2 separate regions of the Homo sapiens genome follow, and region 2 is linked to region 1. Evidence: promoter capture Hi-C in human tissues and cell types (Jung and others, 2019). All regions are on one chromosome and are shown on one strand. The core of a region is centred on a gene start or on the middle of the fragment in contact, and the rest is flanking DNA. Distances in the headings are between cores, read along the strand shown.

Region 1 (3,762 bases), core at 152-2,651:
AGCCAGGTTTGCCAAGTTCCTGAATCATTAATCCTCCGCTACCCTTGAAGATGCGGAGGAGGCTTCCTCTTGTCACGAAGCACACATTTGTGCTGCGGTTAAAGGCTTTCAACCAGCATCAGCTGGACATTGCAACCATGTGCCTCCGCAGGGGTCGATGAGGTTGGGCGGGTGTCCAGTCCCACAGGCCAGCTGGGAAGACACCCATTCCACCCCCGCCCTGGGTTCCTTGGATACCTGTTGATGAATCCGTAACCATTCCGGACGTTGAACCATTTGACAGTGCCCAGGACTTGGATTGCTGCCAGGCAGAGATGCAGTGGGGACAGTGAGATGGGGGGAAGAGATGGAGTTGAACTCAGTTTTGAGACACTCCAAAACAAAAAAAAATCTAGCCTACTGCCTTATTACCTATTCAGGTTACCTTCAAGCCAACCAGGTTTCACTAGTAGCTTCAAGGTATTCCTACCCTAGTCCACCAAATGAAATCACCCACACAGGGACTCAGGCTTTCAAAAAGCCTTCCAACTCTAAGTCACGTTCCCCACATCCTACAAATCCAGCCCCTTCACCTAGAACTGGGTACTCACCTGGTCTGCAAAGTGCCGCCCCCAGGTCATAACTGAGGGTTTTTCTAGCCCTCCCAATGCAAGGGTCCCCAGTGCACCTGCTTGCCAGGCTCAGAGGTTTGCCTAGTTCTAACCCAGTCAACTAGGCACTGTGTCCCGCCCGGGGGCGTGGCCGGACCCTGGGGCTTTATTCTCCACCCCAAGACCTTAGCTGAACCTGCCGGCCCCGCCCTCTCTCCCAGGAAGGTACGGCAGGATTTCCCACCAGGGGAATCCACTTTGGTGCGCAGCTCCCAGCCCAGTTAGCGCTCTGGGCCTGCGGGCCAGGCCGCCTTTGGTTTTCCGGATCCTGCCGGGCTCCACACTGCCCCTCCCCCAGCCCGCCGACCCCTCAGAGCCGCCCTGTGCGCGCCTGCCCCTCACCCAGCACCGGCTTGTCCGCCTGACTCCGGGCCGGGGGGGCGGGGGTTCCCGAGACCGCCGTCGCCGGATTGCCAGGGGTGCGGGAGCCCGGCGCCGAGGGGGTCCCAGCAGCGGGGCCCGAGGCGGCTCCGCCCCCGCCGCCCGCCCCGCCGCCTTTCTGCGGCTCCCCTGCGGGCACCGGTACCACCACCGCTACCACCCCTGCCGCCGTCGCGGGCACCGTCGCCGCGGGGACCGCTGTAGCCCCCGCTGCCGCCTCCACCTCGCTCATCCCGCCGGGTCCAGTACCGGCCACAGCCGCCACCGCCCCGGCCCCTCCCCCCGGCTCGCGAACCCACCGCCCTGCTCGGTCCTCGCGCCCCGAGCCTCGCCCACACGCCGGCAGCGGGCCCGGAGCCGAGGCCAATGGCAGCCCGCTGCCGCCGCTCGCGCAGACCCCGCCTCCCGACCACGGGCCAATCCCAGCCCAGCAGCACCCCCGGACCGCACGCCGACCCCGCCTCCCGGACTTCGCACCGCGGCCCCGGCCCCCGCCAGCCGCCCAGTAAGTACACCTGGGCCCCGCCCCCTGGCCGCCACGTGACGGCCCCCGGCCCAACCCATTGGCCGGCGGCCCCTTTCCCCTCCCCCCTCCGCCCCTTTCCACCGGCCGCGGGAAATCAAACGGGCCGGTCGCGCCCCAACCGCCACCTGGCCTCTGCGGGAAGGGCGGGGCCGGGGCCGCAGTGCCAAGGTTGCCCCTAACGACCTGAGCGAGGGGCGGGAATCTGCAGCCTCGGTTCTGGCAGTGAGTAGCACCGCTCGCCTCCACCCTCGAGACCGACCTTGCCCGTATGCTGCCAGGTGCAGACGCCTTCCGGCCACCACCGCCCTTGGCACCCTCTCCCCACAGGACGGCCCTGCACACCCTGGGGCTGCGGGATCCAACCGCAGGATAGGCTGGAAAGCGCAGCAGAATGGTTTTCCCGGCTCACACTTGCTCCCATGAGCCAGGACCCCCTACTTTTCTTTTTTCTTTCTTTTTCTTTTCTTTTCTTTTTTTTTTTTTTTTTGAGACAGGGTCTCGCCCTGTCGCCCAGACTAGAGTGCAGTGGCGCGATCTCGGCTCGCTACAACCTCCGCCTCCCTGGTTCAAGCGATTCTCCTGCCTTGAGCCACCTCAAGGTGGCTCCCGGCCTGCCCCTACCTATGTTTGTATTGGAAACAAGGTTTACAAGTAGTACAATGCGCAATTCTTCTTCGCTGAGTTTGTTTGTTTGTTTGTTTTGACACAAGGTCTCCCTCTGTCGCCCGGGCTGGAGCGCAGTGCGCGATCTGGGCTCACTGCAGCCTCTGCCTCCCGGGTTCAAGCGATTCTCCCTCCTCAGCCTCCTGAGTACCTGGAATTACAGGCTTGCGCCACCACAACCTGGCTAATTTCTGTATTTTTAGTAGAGATGGGGTTTCACCATATTGGCCAGGCTGGTCTCGAACTCCTGACCTCTGGTGATCCGCCCGCCTCAGCCTCCCAAAGTGTTGGGATGACAGGGTAAGCCACCGTGCCCGGCCTTCGCTGAGTTTTGATCAATGTGTCCACCCATGTGGCCCATACCGACCGCTGCAGCTCTGATGTCTACCGCCCTAGACTGGCTTTGGGGTCTCTCACGTCTGTATGCCGGGGGCTGTGGTCTCCGGCCAGGCGTCAAGCTCCAGCGGACTCGAGGCCTTTTGCACATGCGGTTTCCTCTGCCGAAAACGCGCCTTCGTGTCTCCAGGTGGCTCTCTCCAAGCAGCAGCTTACGTGCCACTCTTCGCCATCACACCATTCCTTATTTTTCTAATGGCATTTTTGAAAATATGACATGATCCTGACCATTTGCTTATTTTATTTCCCTGCACACAGTGGGCTGTAAACTCCACAGCAGTAAGAGCCTTGTAGTTAAGCTGGACGCCTGCAGCAGTGCCTGGTACAACGTACACGTTCAATATTTATCGAATACATGAACGGCCCCCATTCCACAGATGAGAGGACTGAGGGGCAGTGCGAGGCTTGTACCAGGTTTCTCGGGAGCCTGGGAAGATTAAGAAAATGGGCCGGGCGCGGTGGCTCACGCCTGTAATCCCAGAAAAACGAGGCTCCAGCAGTATCTCCTCCCTAGGGCCGCCTCCCCCACCAGGGAGGACGCGGGTGCGCGTTGTATTTTTAGCCAGGGCAGCGCGCCCCGGGGCAGCACACGTGCCCCCAGGCGCTGCTGGGCAAGCCCCACGTGCGCTTCCCAAGGGCTGGCGTCCTCCGCGTCTCCTTCGCCGCCAGCTGCCCGCAGCAGCCGCAGTCGCCTCTCCCGGTCCCGGCGCGCCCTCTGCCGGCCGCTCCCGGAGGCCGCCGGATTCCGCTTCCTCGCTGACCCTCCACTTGCTATCTATCGCCCGCCGCACCCCTCCGGCCCTTTCAGAGTTGAAGATTCGGATTTCCGGGGCATCGGGCACAGTGGACAGAAAAAGAGAAGAGACAAGAAAACAACTAAGTAGCAAGACGAGGCCGTGAAGCATACAAGAATGACCACTGGCCTTAGACTGTTAAGGACCGACTTACCCGTGCCTAGCCCTGAGCTCAAGAAATTGGAGAAGCCTAAGACCAAGACTGGGGAAGGCAGGCAAGAAACCTCACAGTGTGACCGCTGCAGCAAAAGAATCACATGGAAGGCGGAGCTCAGGAGTGGGCCCGTTAGCTACAGGCTGGAGGGTGAGAAGAGAGGACCTAGGAAGGGAAGCTGAACCTTTTTGTAGTAAG
Region 2 (3,708 bases), core at 1,084-3,583, 150 kb before region 1:
GACCCTGTGTCTTAGTCAGCTTGCACTGCCATTGCAAAACACCACGGACTGAATGGCTTAAACAAAAAAAAAACATTTCTTTCTCACAGTTCTGGAGGCTAGGAAGCCCAAGGTGAAGGTACCGGCAGATCCAGTGTCTGGGGAGGGCTCACTTCCTGGTTTACAGACAGCCACCTTCTTGCTGTGTCCTCACGTGGATGAGAGAGCACACTCTGGCCTCCTTCTCTTCCAACAAGGGCACAAATCCTATCGTGGGGACCCCACCCTCACAACCTCATCTAAATGTAATTATCTCCCAAAGGCCCCACCTCCAAATATCATCACACTGTGGAGTAGGGCTTCCACCTATGAATCCGGGGTGGGGAGGACAGAAACATTCAGTCCCTAGAATCCTGTATCAGTGCTAAGGCCTGGTAGGGTTTGTGAGGGAAGCCGCGTTTGGCACAGGCTGAAGGTGCCCCCTCACCAGATAGAGGCTGAGAAGATGTGCTTTGAGGACCTCTGCTGAGCAGGGCTATGAACTGAAGTGTTTTTTCCTCTGGAGCCCGAGGACACGGTGCAGTTGCTCAGCAGCACTAAGGAGGGACTGGGTGTGCCCTGAGCAAGCTGTCATTGGGGGTTAAAGACTGAAACTGTCACAGCCTAGGTGCCTAGTGGCTTCCGGGACAGAGCTAAGCAGGGCACAACAGGGGTAGACGGTCTGTTCCATTAAGCTTTTGAAGCTCGTTGTCTGAGGTAATACCCAAGGTTCATCGTCTCATGCCAAGGAAATTGAGGATGCAGGCACACACGACGAGTGAGTTTAAGAGCAGAGGTTTAATAGGCAAGAGAAAGAAAAGCTCTCTCTCCTGCAGAGAGGGAGGGGCTCCCAAGTCGGTCTTCTGGCTCCGAGGTGAAATGCACTGGGTGTTATAGGTGAGCTTGAGGAGGCAGTGTCTGATTTGGAGGTTTTGCCTTGTTTTGTTTTGTTTTGTTTTTGAGACAGAGTTTCGCTCTTGTTGCCCAGGCTGGAGTGCAGTGGCACGATCTCGGCTCACCGCAACCTCTGCCTCCCAGGTTCAAGGGATTCTCCTGCCTCAGCCTCCCGAGTAGCTGGAATTACAGGCATGCACACCACGCCCGGCTAATTTTTGTATTTTTAGTAGAGACGGGGTTTCACCATGTTGGTCAGGCTGGTCTCAAACTCCTGACATCAGGTGATCCACCCGGCTCAGCCTCCCAAAGTGCTGGGATTATAGGCGAGAGCCGCCGCACCCACCCGGCCAGGCAGTGTCTGATTTACACAGAGCCCAAAAGATTGCGGGACCAGGTATGCCATTTACATAGTGCAAGAAGAAGCTGGCCGCCCCACCCTAATCTTTTATTATGCAAATGGATTCTCTACCTGGTTGGCATCATGTTGCTGCTTCCTTTACTGTACAGGTGGTTGATAAGGAAAAGGGAAGATGAAGCCTCCATGTTGAACATGCCTGGCCCCAGGTAGCCTTTTCCGATTGGCACGGCTGCCGCCATTCACCCGTTCAAGCTTCCAGCTTGCCTGTCAATGTCTGCAGCTCGATTTTACAGGCTGCTCTTTGTTAGAAAAGAAATGATGTGGGGGCTGCTTTTTGTTAAAAGGGATGCCTTACCGAGGACTCTCTTACCCTCACCAACTGCCTAAGTAATTTCTTTTTAGCTCCCGTATTACTGCATCAAACTATAGCCAGATCCACGGTGACTACAGCGCAGCCACGGCAGGGGTGGCCTCTGGCTGAGCGGGACTTGTTTGCAGCAGCAGCATCTGGTGGCAATCGCAGAAATAAGAAGGCAGTCGAGGCCGGGCACAGTGGCTCATTGCTCATTGCTTGAACCCAGCAGGCAGAGGTTGAAGTGAGCCAAGATCGCGCCACCGCACTCCAGCCTGGGCAACAGAGTGAGACTCCGTCTCAAAAAAAAAAAAAAAAAAAAAAGAATTTCGGCATTTGAGAAAAGGCTTAAGAATCTGGCATTGAACAGGCTATCCAGCCCAAAAGGGACCTCACCTGCTTTGTTGATTGTTGAATGGCCCAACTACATCTGGTTGCAGTGGCAAACGGCTGACCTCCACGAGCAGCTGAAAGTGCCTCCTGCAAGTGACCGACTCATCCAGGCCTTGGACCGAGAAAACAGCTCCTCAACTGCATCAGCTGGACCATGGTACAGACCAGAGACAGGGCAAGAAAAGAAGCAGAGGCTATTGGCCCGTGCAGAGAAGAAAGCTGCCGGCAAAGGGGGCATCTCCATGAAGACCCCAACTGTCCCACGAGCAGGGTTAACCCCGACAGCACCTTGGTGGAGAACAAGAAGCCTCAGCTGGTGGTGACTGCACGTGACTCTCGTCGAGCTTGCTGTCTCTCTGTCTGCGCTGTGTCCTACAGTGGGGTTCCCTTACTGCGTTATCCAGGGGAAGGCAGGACGGAGATGCCTGGTCTGCAGGAAGACCCCAGAAAAGACTGTCACCTTCACACAGGCTCACTGGGAAGACAAAGCAGCTCTGGCTAAGGTGGCGGAAGCTATCAGGACCGATTACAATGGCAGGTGTGACGAGATCCACAGTCACTGGGGAGGCAATGGAACCTCCTTTGCAAAAATTATAACTGAGGAAATTATGACAGTGAAAGAAATCAGACCTAACCGACTCCATCTTGCGTCTAACCTTTAAGCTGTCCTTGTCCATTCCTCGGCGTGGGCTGAACAAACTTCGGGGAGGAATTCAGCTCGTGGTTTGACTCTGAAACAAAATTGATAATAGCCCTTAACCGAAAAGACTCTTCTTGCCTGGGGACCAGTCTGCCTTTGCAAGACTAACAGATTAGCTACGAGATCAGAAATTGTAGTTTAGGGGTCATGCAGACTCTGACTCTAAGAGTCGGAACTTCCCCACATTGCTCCTGGGAATAACATCACTATTGTAAAACCTAAGATCAGTACTTGAGATACTTTTCAGACCCTGCACTCGATAGATCAGCTGACACCACCCAGACTCATAATCTGACCTAACCAGTTCTGCCACCGCACCCAGGAACAGAAGACAGCAAGAAAATCTCACTTTGATCTCCTATGATTCCGTCTCCAACCTGACCAGTCAGCGCTCCTCACTTCCCAAGCCCCTATCCGCCAAATTATCTTTAAAAACTCTGATCTCTGAATGCTGGGAGACTGATTTGAGAAATAGTAAAACTCTGGGCCGTGTCACGTGCGTCCGAGTGAAGAGCCCACCGAACAGGCTTTGTGTGAGCAACAAGGCTATTTATTTCACCTGCGTGCAGGCGGGCTGAGTCCGAAAAGAGAGTCAGCAAAGAGTGGTGGGATTATCACTAGCTCTTACAGGTGTTGGGATAGGCGGTGGAGTTAGGAGCAATGTTTTGCAGGCAGGGAGTGGATCTCACAAAGTATACATGGGTGGGGAGAATTACAAAGAACCTTCTTAAGGTTGTGGGAGATTACAAAGAACCTTCTTAAGGTTGTGGGAGATTACAAAGAACCTTCTTAAGGTTGGGAGAGATTGCAAAGCACATTGATCAGTCAGGGTGGGGCAGAAACAAATCACAATGGTGGAATGTCATCAGTTAAGGCTATTTTCACTTTTTTTGTGGATCTTCAGTTGCTTCAGGCCACCTGGATGTATACGTGCAGGTCACAGGGGATGTGATGCCTTAGCTTGGGCTCAGAGGCCTGACAGGCCGCGCG

What was found. The method cuts DNA at HindIII sites, captures the fragments that hold promoters and counts their contacts. A contact is called where the count stands out against the background at its distance.
Region 2: a fragment that was not itself captured here is called in contact with the fragment with the promoter of YBX2 in region 1 in 1 of the 25 tissues and cell types used here (spleen).

The regions. Positions count from the first base shown.
Region 1 is chr17:7,293,238-7,296,999 of GRCh38, forward strand. YBX2 (Y-box binding protein 2) reads right to left here and starts at 1,402. Exons shown (of 9, transcript NM_015982.4): 1 at 993-1,402; 2 at 238-301. The coding sequence starts at 1,263. LOC124903912 (a long non-coding RNA gene) reads right to left here and starts at 3,659. Exons shown (of 2, transcript XR_007065602.1): 1 at 3,565-3,659; 2 at 2,841-3,417. RefSeq lists silencers at 754-929, 1,347-1,466, 1,497-1,666, 3,205-3,364 and an enhancer at 3,585-3,634. The HindIII fragment of the contact is 17,351 bases long and covers 1-3,762 here.
Region 2 is chr17:7,139,003-7,142,710 of GRCh38, forward strand. LOC105371512 (a long non-coding RNA gene) reads left to right here. Exons shown (of 3, transcript XR_934191.3): 3 at 1,676-1,761. LOC124903910 (a long non-coding RNA gene) reads right to left here and starts at 3,622. Exons shown (of 2, transcript XR_007065600.1): 1 at 3,473-3,622; 2 at 3,247-3,441. It also overlaps the pseudogene RPL7AP64. The HindIII fragment of the contact is 4,120 bases long and covers 274-3,708 here.